2 separate regions of the Homo sapiens genome follow, and region 2 is linked to region 1. Evidence: promoter capture Hi-C in human tissues and cell types (Jung and others, 2019). All regions are on one chromosome and are shown on one strand. Each heading gives the region's core, a stretch centred on a gene start or on the middle of the fragment in contact. The rest is flanking DNA. Distances are from core to core; before and after follow the strand shown.

Evidence for each region. The method cuts DNA at HindIII sites, captures the fragments that hold promoters and counts their contacts. A contact is called where the count stands out against the background at its distance.
Region 2: a contact is called between a fragment that was not itself captured here and the fragment with the promoter of SFRP2 in region 1, in 1 of the 25 tissues and cell types used here (small bowel).

What each region holds. Positions count from the first base shown.
Region 1 is chr4:153,785,695-153,791,104 of GRCh38, reverse strand. It overlaps SFRP2 (secreted frizzled related protein 2), which reads left to right and starts at 2,022. Exons shown (of 3, transcript NM_003013.3): 1 at 2,022-2,771; 2 at 5,161-5,241. The coding sequence starts at 2,270. RefSeq lists enhancers at 1-129, 391-1,092, 1,093-1,794, 1,709-1,878. The HindIII fragment of the contact is 9,313 bases long and covers 1-5,410 here.
Region 2 is chr4:153,837,168-153,842,806 of GRCh38, reverse strand. LOC101927947 (a long non-coding RNA gene) reads right to left here. Exons shown (of 15, transcript XR_007058336.1): 2 at 2,480-2,650; 3 at 540-674. Among named protein-coding and RNA genes, the nearest start is that of SFRP2, 51 kb to the right of the region's middle. The HindIII fragment of the contact is 5,457 bases long and covers 646-5,639 here.

The sequences.
Region 1 (5,410 bases), core at 773-3,272:
AGCGCGGGGGCCGCCAGCCACTTCCGGGCGTGCGGCAGCGCGGGGCTCAAACCAGCCAGACCAGCTTCGGGCTCCTTGAACTCCCAACAAGGGGCTCTGCGGGGAGGAGGCGACCCCAGCGGAGGGCGTTGGGGATTTAGGGGTTGGCCGGGGCCGGCGGGGGGTTGGGGGGGCGTGAAAGCGAGAGGGCCCTTATCCCACTCCCAGGCCCAAGTCGTAGCATCTCTCAGAGCTCACGCTCTTTATTAGCTCTTTCTTTTGGTGTGCTTCTGTTTCCTTTGTGGTTTCATTGCAAAGTAGTTTATGTTGGGAAGGGGGCTTTTAGGCCTCTTGGTGCTTTCGTTAGAGACGAAAAGGCCCTGAACCAATTTGGGGAAAGAGAGGCCTTTTGCAGCTACCCCGGGCCCTTCCCCAGCAGAGCACCCGGAAGCTGGGCTCTTAGGGACGCAGATTCTTGGAGTTCAGAATGTGCATTCTCTCCAGATGACGATTTTCCTGGCGTGTTTACGGTCAGCAGATAACACTGAGTGGGCTTTTGCCACCCATTCATTCATTACCCGGCTCCTCTAAGCAGCTGGACCGCAAAGTGTGCCTGATAACTTGGGCCTGGGAGCCGCCAAGGCCAACGCATCTTCCGGAAGGAGGGAAATTAGGAAGCCGGGGTCTGAGCCTGTGAATGACTCTTAAGTGGTCGGGAAGTAATAACAATGCGCCCACCTTACATATGAAAGAACTTCGCCCTCCGGGGATTATCTCTTTGGATCTTCACAGCCACCCGGAGACAGCGGCTGAGGAGAGCGAAGGCCTCCTGTCCCCATAGGGAGACTAGGGACAATTAGGCAAAAGGAGCCCACCCCCCAACCCAGAACTTACTGTTTGCAGTCAGAGACACTAGATCCCAGGCTCCACGAGAGCAGAGGCCGGCCTGTTTGTTCATTTCTGCACATCCAGCGCCCAGCATGGTGCCCCCTGGTACGTAGGGGATGAATGAGCTAATTCTAGCCCTCGTGGATCTCTAGGCAGGACTCCTTCCTCTACCTCGCTCCCTCCCAGCCTGCCCATCTTTTGTGCCCGTCTTTTGTGCCGGCCACCAGTCTTTACAAACAGTGCCCTGGGGGCCCATACTCCAGCTTTCCAGAGCGCACAGCTGCAAGGGCGGCTGTGTGTTAGAGCCCGTGATGCCTTCGAGTATTGAGTCATGCCATTCATTTAAGAAGGAAAAATCTCTCCAAAACGGGGAAATGGTGGGCAGTCCTGTGTGACTGGTGAGACTCTTGTAGGGGCGTTTCTACAACGACGAAACCCTTCCTAGGCACTCACTCCAACAGAATAACAAGCCCATTTTATTAGTATTTCGTTTTCCATGTAAAGTTCTGCTCATACGAATATATTTATAATTCTGATTTTTTTACGGCATTGGGGAGCACACCGACAGGCTGCTGAACGGTGGCTGGAGATTCGAGGGAAAACGAAGTTCGCCGAGGCGGCCTCGGGCGGGCAGGTCCCGGGCTCCATCACAGGGCACACGCGGCTACCAGGGACGCAGCCCCCCAACACACACACACACACACACACACACACACACACACACACACACACCCTCTCCCACTCATGCCTGGCAACCCAGCAGAAACTTCGGACTGGGGCAAAACAAGCCCGGGCCCCGGCGGCACGCGGGGCTAGGCGCGTTCCCGCCAGTACCTGGTCGCGAGGCCGCTCGCGGGGTGCCCTGCGTGCCCCCCACTCCCGCAGCCCGCGCCCTGCTCGCTCACTGTGGGGGCGCAGCGGCCAGGCTTCTCTGTTTGTTGTTTAAAGAAATCCTAGGGCGGGCGAGCGGCGGCATCTAGGGGAGGGGGCGCAGCCAGAATTCCCTTCCAGCAAGCGCGTGAGGGGCATTCTCAACGCAAAACCAGACCCAGAAAGTAGTGACCAGCCCTCCTCGGATTACCCTTCATTGGCTCCTCCCTTGCTCCCCCCACCCTCCAGATTTGCATAAAAAAGGCCAAGAAAACTCTGGCTGTGCCCCAGCAACGGCTCATTCTGCTCCCCCGGGTCGGAGCCCCCCGGAGCTGCGCGCGGGCTTGCAGCGCCTCGCCCGCGCTGTCCTCCCGGTGTCCCGCTTCTCCGCGCCCCAGCCGCCGGCTGCCAGCTTTTCGGGGCCCCGAGTCGCACCCAGCGAAGAGAGCGGGCCCGGGACAAGCTCGAACTCCGGCCGCCTCGCCCTTCCCCGGCTCCGCTCCCTCTGCCCCCTCGGGGTCGCGCGCCCACGATGCTGCAGGGCCCTGGCTCGCTGCTGCTGCTCTTCCTCGCCTCGCACTGCTGCCTGGGCTCGGCGCGCGGGCTCTTCCTCTTTGGCCAGCCCGACTTCTCCTACAAGCGCAGCAATTGCAAGCCCATCCCTGCCAACCTGCAGCTGTGCCACGGCATCGAATACCAGAACATGCGGCTGCCCAACCTGCTGGGCCACGAGACCATGAAGGAGGTGCTGGAGCAGGCCGGCGCTTGGATCCCGCTGGTCATGAAGCAGTGCCACCCGGACACCAAGAAGTTCCTGTGCTCGCTCTTCGCCCCCGTCTGCCTCGATGACCTAGACGAGACCATCCAGCCATGCCACTCGCTCTGCGTGCAGGTGAAGGACCGCTGCGCCCCGGTCATGTCCGCCTTCGGCTTCCCCTGGCCCGACATGCTTGAGTGCGACCGTTTCCCCCAGGACAACGACCTTTGCATCCCCCTCGCTAGCAGCGACCACCTCCTGCCAGCCACCGAGGAAGGTAAGCCTTCCCTCTTGCTTCCCCACTCCCTGCTGGGCTGAGACGCTCCCAGGAGATCCCGCCCCTGCCACGCATCCCAGTGCATCCCTGCTTGGGGTGCCAGTAGCGGGAAGGGCAGAAGTTCTGCCTGACCTGGTCTGTCATCACAACAAGCCTGTATCAAATTTGAGGCACCCCTCCCACGCCGCCCAAGTCTCGCGCATTCTCCTCCCGAGTTGTACCAGCTATACTTAAGGGCAGTTTAAAAATAAAACAAACAAACAAAAACAACAAAACTAAAAAAACGAAGAACTGAACGGCGGTTTAAAAAAAAATAGATACACGATTATTGTTAAAGATGCTAGCACTGGAGCTGCGCAGAGCGTTGGAAGTGGTGTTTGGTGGAGGAGTTTGTGGTGAGCATTCTGGCCAGAGGCCCCTCGCTCAGCCTCATTCTGCACCTTCCTACCACTGGGCAGGATTCTAGTCACAGGAACATTTCCTGTACAGAAAGGAAAACCAGGATGCACAAGTAGATAACCTTTTAAGGGTCTTTTTGTCCTTTGTCAATTTAGATTTTGGAAATAAAACCGGGACTGGCACGGAGTGTGTGGAAAATTGAACATTGGTTGTAACTGCTCAGATACTTGAGGAAGAGGGCATAAAGGGAATCTCTGGAAATCACTTTTCTATTGCTATCAGTTTTTAACTTAGGAGTGGTTTTGATTAGCTGGAGAAAATCATGCAAAAGAGATTCCCAAGTTTTTAGAAAACGGAGGGAGAGTTCCTGTGCAAAAACCATCAAAGCAATGAAAACCTCATGGGCTCTCAATATTTTTTCTGAAAGGAAAACATATACAATGCCTCTGAGCTGATTTGGGTCCCCTGGGTTGGAAAAGGGAGCTTCCTAATCCCTTTCAGGGCTTCAGCAGCCTCTCCCTTTCAATCTCTAGTAGTTTTCCTACAGACATCATTAGTTAAAGCAAATGCAAAGTTCTTTAGCAATCTTTCCTGGCAGGGACCATGAGTTTGCAATCATCTTATTGGTTAGATTTCTAATTTATTGCAAATGTTTGGCATTTTTCAAACATTTGTCCAACATGTACCATAGACCAACCAATACAGGTTAGTAATATTTTATATACATCCTGAGAGCTCCTAATTGGAAATGTTTGATTTTGTTTGGGTGAGGGGACTTAAGGGCAGTTTTATGTATGTTGCTTTTATTTCTTCCCACTATCAGCAGCAACATTACGCATCTTACATTTCTCCAAAAAGCCACTTTTCTCCTTCAAAATAAAAGTTTATGTTCTTCAAAATTCCAGCTTTGTGATTTTTCTAATTTGATAAATAACGCTTCTATTAAGTCACATAGTTTTCTATGAACATTAAATTTCACATTAGTGAAAATCTCATTTCACCTAAATTTTAAAGACATAATTAACACATTTATAAATGAGAGAAGGGCAATATAATTGTTCTTTTTTTTTTTTTTTTACTTCTCCCAAGAAATCAAACTCTTAGAAGAGCTTTTAGCAGGTCTTCTGATAATTGTGCTAGTATACAATCCCTAAGTTTGATCAGACCACTAAACCATTTTTGCTTCGTCTTTGATTAGCTTCAGAAACAGGTTTATTTATTTGTTTGTTTTGAGAGTTTGAAACAGGCACAGAAGGGCAAGAAGAACCTGTACCAGGGAGCTTGCAGATAACAATGAAATGAATGCTGCCTAACTCAAGCACAATCTTGGCAGAGGCACAAGGTGACACAGAACCACTTAGAGCAGGCTGTTGTAATTAGTGAGATGTGTTTTCAAGGTGGAAACAGCCCACATGTGGAACGCTAGCCAGTCACCCCTCCCAGTCCAGACTTGGCCCCCCTGAGATACAGAGCTCTGCCGAGTAGAGCCAACTACACTGGTGTCCTGTGGCTGAGAAAGACAATCTTTTGTCTATATTTTCTAGTTACCAGTTTTCCCAAATTCCTCAAGTATCTTTGGTTCTTTGGGTGCTTTCTCCTTCAAAAGGCCTTGGGAATAACTTTTTCAGACTGAATTTCCCAGAGGTTGGGAGGATGAGCTGAAAAGCTGCACCCTGTCTCAGTTAACTATAACTACATACACTTGTATACTCTGCCCACAACTCCCTTTTGAGAGTCATAATTTATTAAACACAACAACATATAGGCATTCTCATTTTGCTCCCACCACCCCTCCCCCCCAAAAAAATTGGGAAGCATGGGAAAACTTTCTTAGGATTGAGTGTTCCTGCTTTTATAGAGGAGGCAGAAGCTGAGGTTAAATAGGACAATTGCTACTTTTGTCTGGATAAGTCCCTTTGAGTTGTTTACAAACGCCACCTACTGTTCTCTTTTAAGCAAACTTACTAAAGACTGTTTTTCACATTTCTAGCTCCAAAGGTATGTGAAGCCTGCAAAAATAAAAATGATGATGACAACGACATAATGGAAACGCTTTGTAAAAATGATTTTGGTAAGTAATACAACAACAACAACAGATTTCACATTCAGAAGTTTTATTTACCAGTAAAACTTCAAGGTGCAAATCATTATGATGTTGCTAGATAAAGGTTGGGTAAAACACCATTATAGCTCATGTATCCCAAAATCATCTAACTTGATCTATCCTAGTTTCCTCCTTA
Region 2 (5,639 bases), core at 2,125-4,624, 50 kb before region 1:
AATTAAATCTTTTCCTTGGATTTCTCTAGTCAAATGTTAATCTCCTATTAACAATCCTTGCTCCCAGTCTTTTTATCTGAATTACCAATAACATGCATTTTTTCTTCCTAAAGATATTATTATCATCTGCATATATTTCATTGAAAAAGATATGCAAATGGCAAAAACACATGAAAAGGTACATCATTAGTAATCAGGGAACTGCAATTCAAAACCACGATGAGATACCACTTCACATCCACTAGAACGACTATAATCAAAAAGAAAGATAATAACAAGCATTGACAAGGATGTGGAAAAATTGAAACCTTCTTACACTGCTAGTGGGAATGTAAAATGGTACAGTCACTTTGGAAAACCGGCTGGTAGTTAAACATAAAGTTACCATGTGACCCAGCAATTCTGCTTCTACATATTTACCCAAAAGCAATAAAACACACATCCACAAAAGAAAAAACCTTACATAAACCTGGCCATTAGAGCAAGACCCCATCTCTACAAAATAAAATAAAAAATTATCCAGGTGTGGTGGCACACACCTATAGTCCCAGCTACTTGAGAGGATGACATGTAGCTCCTGCTGACGTGGAAGGATTGCTTGAGCCCAAGAGGTTGAGGCTGCAGTAAGCCATGATTGCACCACTGCACTCCAGCCTGGGCAACAGAGCAAGACCCTGTCTCAAAAAAAAAAGAAAAACTTATAAACAAATGTTCATAGCAGCATTATATGTAATAGTGAAAAAGTATAAATAGCTTAAATGTTCATCAACTGATAAATAGATAAACAAAATGTGGTATATCTATACAATGAAATACTAAGTGGCCTTGAAAAAGAATGAAGTACTAATACATGCTACAACATGGATGAACCTTGAAAGCATTATGCTGAGTGGGGAAAAAAAGCCAGTCACAAAAGACTATATATTGTATTATTTCTTTTCTATGAACTATCTAAAATAGTCAAATCTATAAAAACAGAAAGTAGATTAGTGGTTGGAGGAGGGGGTATTGAGGAGTGGTGATGGAAGGATGCAGGGTTTCTGTGGAAAGTAATAAAAATGTTCTAAAATTGATTGTGGTAACGATTATACAACTTCTTGAATATACTAAAAACCATTGACGTATACACTGTGAATGAGTGAATCATTTGGTATGTGATTTATATCTCAATAAAGGTGTTACAAAATATATTGTCATGGAAGTAGTACACTTGTATAGATAAACTTATTTATTTAGAGAAAAGGAGCAAAAATAAATGGGGGTGCCATTTTCAGTGGTGAGAGGTTGGGCATATTTACACCAAATGACTGCTTTTCAAGAAATAAATCAGGAACGTGACATAGACAGCACTAGTCAAGGGCAGTCTGAATACTGCCAATAACGTTACCTTTTGCCTTTACTTAGGATAAATTCTTGTGCTAAAGAATCTGAATTAGGCCGGGCACAGTGGCTCTCGCCTGCAATCCCAGCACTTTGGGAGGCCGAGGCGGGCAGATCACGAGGTCAGGAGGCCAACACCATCCTGGCTAACACGGTGAAACCCCGTCTCTACTAAAAATACAAAACATTAGCCAGCCGTGGTGGCGGTCGCCTGTAGTCCCAGCTACTCGGGACGCTGAGGCAGGAGAATGGCATGAACCCAGGAGGCAGAGCTTGCAGTGAGCCAAGATCGCGCCACTGCACTCTGGCCTGGGCGACAGAACAAGACTCCGTCTCAAAAAAAAAAAAAGAAAGAAAGAAAAGAATCTGAATTAAATAGCAATATCATTGTCTATCATTTCACTAAATTTTGGCTAACCTACTCTGTCCAAATGGAAATGAGAATGTCAAGGCAAGAAAAATGTGGCTGGTCTAATTTAGAAAATACTGAGATAAGGATTATTTCCTTGGGAGGAAAAGTAAACAAAAAAATACCCCAGTTCATTTTTCTCTAAGATCCCATTCAAACTCCATGTTCTCATCTGTAGAATACGGAGGAGGGTATTTAACTAGATACCCTTAAGCTTCTTTCTGCTTCCAAAATTCTATGACTATGGCACACAATTAAACCAAGGAATATGTATCAGAATTGTGGTGAAACCTATCAGGATTACAGGGAAAACTTCAAGATTTGCCAGGAGCTCAGATAGAAACTTCATCTGGGTTGGAAAACCTTGGAACATTGGAAAACCTCGTCTAAGAGCTCATGCTCTACACTGACTCTTTTACCTGAAATAGATAAGATGGGAAAAATTCAGTTCAGCATAATTGCTCGTCCTACCATCTGTAATAACAACTAATGATCAGGGTGTGTTTTAAGCCTGAATTGCTTCAGTCACTATGTGAAGAGAAACAATCACAAAAAGACTCTCTCTGAAATGGTCTGAACTGTTCAGGCCTAGGAATTGTGACTGGCCGATTTCTTTCAAATATTATTGTTTTCTAATGGAGTGGGACTCAGCAAGAAATTTTTCAGGCCAAAGTAATACATGCTTCTTACCCCTTGATAAATCCAGACAAGATGGGGCATTCAAAATAGGAAAAAGACTTTGGGACAACGATGGAATGTGAATTGGCTTCTTAGCTCTGCAACTGGAAAGCAAAATTCCAAGTACTGGAAACCCAAAGATGTGGCAGCCCACTGGGAAACATAGCTCTGAAACAGAAGAAGCTAGGAAAGAAACAATAATAAAAAAATTGATGAGTTACCCAGGAATTGGAAATATTGATCCATGAATAGAAATTCAGAAAATTTAAATTGGGGTGGAGGAAAAATGTATCTTATCATTCTTTAAAAAACAATTTTTTTGAAAGACCCAGGCTATCTGGGCAAGGTACTAAAATATGCTAATACATTTATAGCTTAGTGTCGGAGGGCCACTCTGTCATTCTTAATCCCCATGAGCTAGTCTCTGCCTTTATCCCCTAAGTAATGAACAAACCAGTCTTAGAAGATGAAATGGGTTGGGTTCACTCAGACTGGTTCAGATAGTTTTCCCTCTAGATTATAGCTGGCTTTTAGGAAGGAGGCACATACAAATTAGGCTTCCCATTTCAATCCATAAATCTAATTTTACTTCAATGTAAGTAGGCCTTGACATCAACTTTATGTGCTCTTCAACTCTATTCCAGCTAAACCTGTAAAGTCTTTCTGTATGGGGGCAACAAAGTACCCAGTTTCATGCTTAAAAAATTACTTTCAGTATAGAAAAAGAAGACTGAAAATACCACTACACAAATTGTACTGTTGTTGAACAAGGAAAGGAAATGTGAGGAGGGAGGGCAGGAGAAATCTAGTTGCCTGTCATTTTAACAAAATGTCAGGCCTTTTTCAAGATTTCTAAGCTGGTCTTTGCTAAGATTTGATTCATGGCGTAGGACTTGTAACTAGAATGAGGATGAACTTTTCTTTGTGATTTATAAGAGACTACTGTGACTCGTTCAAGAAATCTATGTTCAACGCAATACATTAACTAGAAGCCCACCAAAGTATGCAGACTCTTCAATCCAAGTTTCCAGAAACTTCTGCAACTGGGAAAATCAGTTTCGAAATTTTTTCAAATGGTAATGTGAATTCCTTGGAAGCAAAGTTAGTATACCGTCCTACACTCTCCTAATGAGGGCAATTATGTTATACCTGCTTGATTTAAATTATATGTAGTGAGTAGAATTTATGGCAAAGGTACTGCAAAGGAATTCCAACATTCAATGAATTTACAGAAGAGGAAAGAAAGAAAATCATTTTGTGGTTCAAAAAATAATGAAAACCTCTCAGACCCAAAGTGAAATTGTATATTTCTGTTTACCAACATACCAGTAAAATGCATGCCCTGAAAAACACTAAGAGGAAGCCTGCTAAGGTCACGACAAAAACAGGACTCATTGATATCCATGGTGCCTTAAGGAAAAGGGAACCTCCGTGAGGTCCTACTAAGTGTCAGCTACCTTCCATATATCCTATGGCTCAATTCTCCCAACATTGAGACCTAAATGTTACTCTCTATGCACAGCTGAGGACACCAAAGCACAGCGAGGCCAAGCACTTTGTCCAAGATCAACATAGCTGGTCAACTGAGCCAGATTTTGAACATGAATCTATAAGCTACAGAGTCCAGGCCATTAAATCACTCTCCAAGAGGCATTCTGTGCTTTTCTAAGTTGAAAAGAGAATTTTCTCAGCAGTCTTCCTTCTTTATTTCCTATTTTTTTCTGAAAGGGGCTGCCTCACCTGAGGTAGAAATGAATTTAAATTCATTCCCATCCCCTAGACTAAAATAAACTCTGCAACATCCACAAACTGATATCAGAAATATAGCATAGGGAGAGAAGCAGATATGCCCACCACAAGACAAGTTTTCCTTTTGACTTAAGGTATTCAATGGTGCTCCTGAAAGGGAGAATGCATTGAATAGGAGCTCTTTAAGATTCATTTCTTTAAAAAAAAAATACAGCTTCATTAAAAATAATATCTAACCATGGTTTTTAAAGCTTTTGTTTTTTCCCAGAAGTTTTGTGTGTTTAATCTTGAGAACAACCCAAGAGGTAGAACAGGTACTCATCCAAGGTATTTGAGTTGTATGTAGCATTATATTAATTGCTACATACAATTACTTTTAAAGGCAAAAACCACAATTAACTTTTGCACCAAACTAATATTATTACATGGGCAAGTGAGGCTTCATGAGACAAATGTTAATAAATGCTTAATTCGCATATTAACTGCTTGGACACAAATAGTTTACACCAAATACTTGAAGTCGGTTATTTAACATACAAGAGACTCTTAACATTTCCAGTGTGGGATAGCCACTGAGCCAGTTGGCATTCCTTCCCTAAAAATCAACCCTTTTTATTTGTTTTCCATTCTTAAATCTTAACACTTTTTTTCTTTGAAGTTCCACTGAGTATAAAAAACAGTGCTGGCCGGGAGCGGTGGCTCATGCCTGTAATCTCAGCACTTTGGGAGGCAGAGGCAGGTGGATTGCCTGAGGTCAGGAGTTCAAGACCAGTCTGGCCAACATGGTGAAACCCCCGTCTCTACTAAAAATACAAAAAAATTAGCCAGGCCTAGTGGTGTGCACCTGTAATCCCAGCTACTCAGGAGGCTGAGGCAGGAGAATTGCTTGAACCAGGGAGGTGGAGGTTGCAGTAAGTCAAGATCGCACCACTGCACTCCAGCCTGGGCGACAGAGCAAGACTCCGTCTCAAAACAAAACAAACAAACAAACAACAGTGCTAGACATCACAGAGGCTAAAAAACAAAGAATCCCACAAGAACCAAAGTTGGAAAAAAGGAAAAAAACGCAGAGCCATTAAAAATAATCTACAAAAATTCACATAGTAGTAGACATTAATCCTTGGCTGCACAGAGGAGTCACTCAATGAGCCTTAAAAATATGAATCACTGGGTCATGGCCCCACATATTCTGATTTCACTGGTCTGGGGTGGAGCCTGAGCTTTGGTACTTTTTAGAAGCTCCCAGGTGATTCTATTGTGCAGCTGAGGTTGGAAGCACTGCTTACAAGAGCAATGGAGAGACACACAGTACATGGATGGCTGAGAGTGTCAGTGAACAACTGTCAGGACATTGTAGGGATCTCCTTCCTTCCTTCCTTCCTCTCACCTGAATTGGCCCCTTGAGTTAAGTAGCGTTTGGACT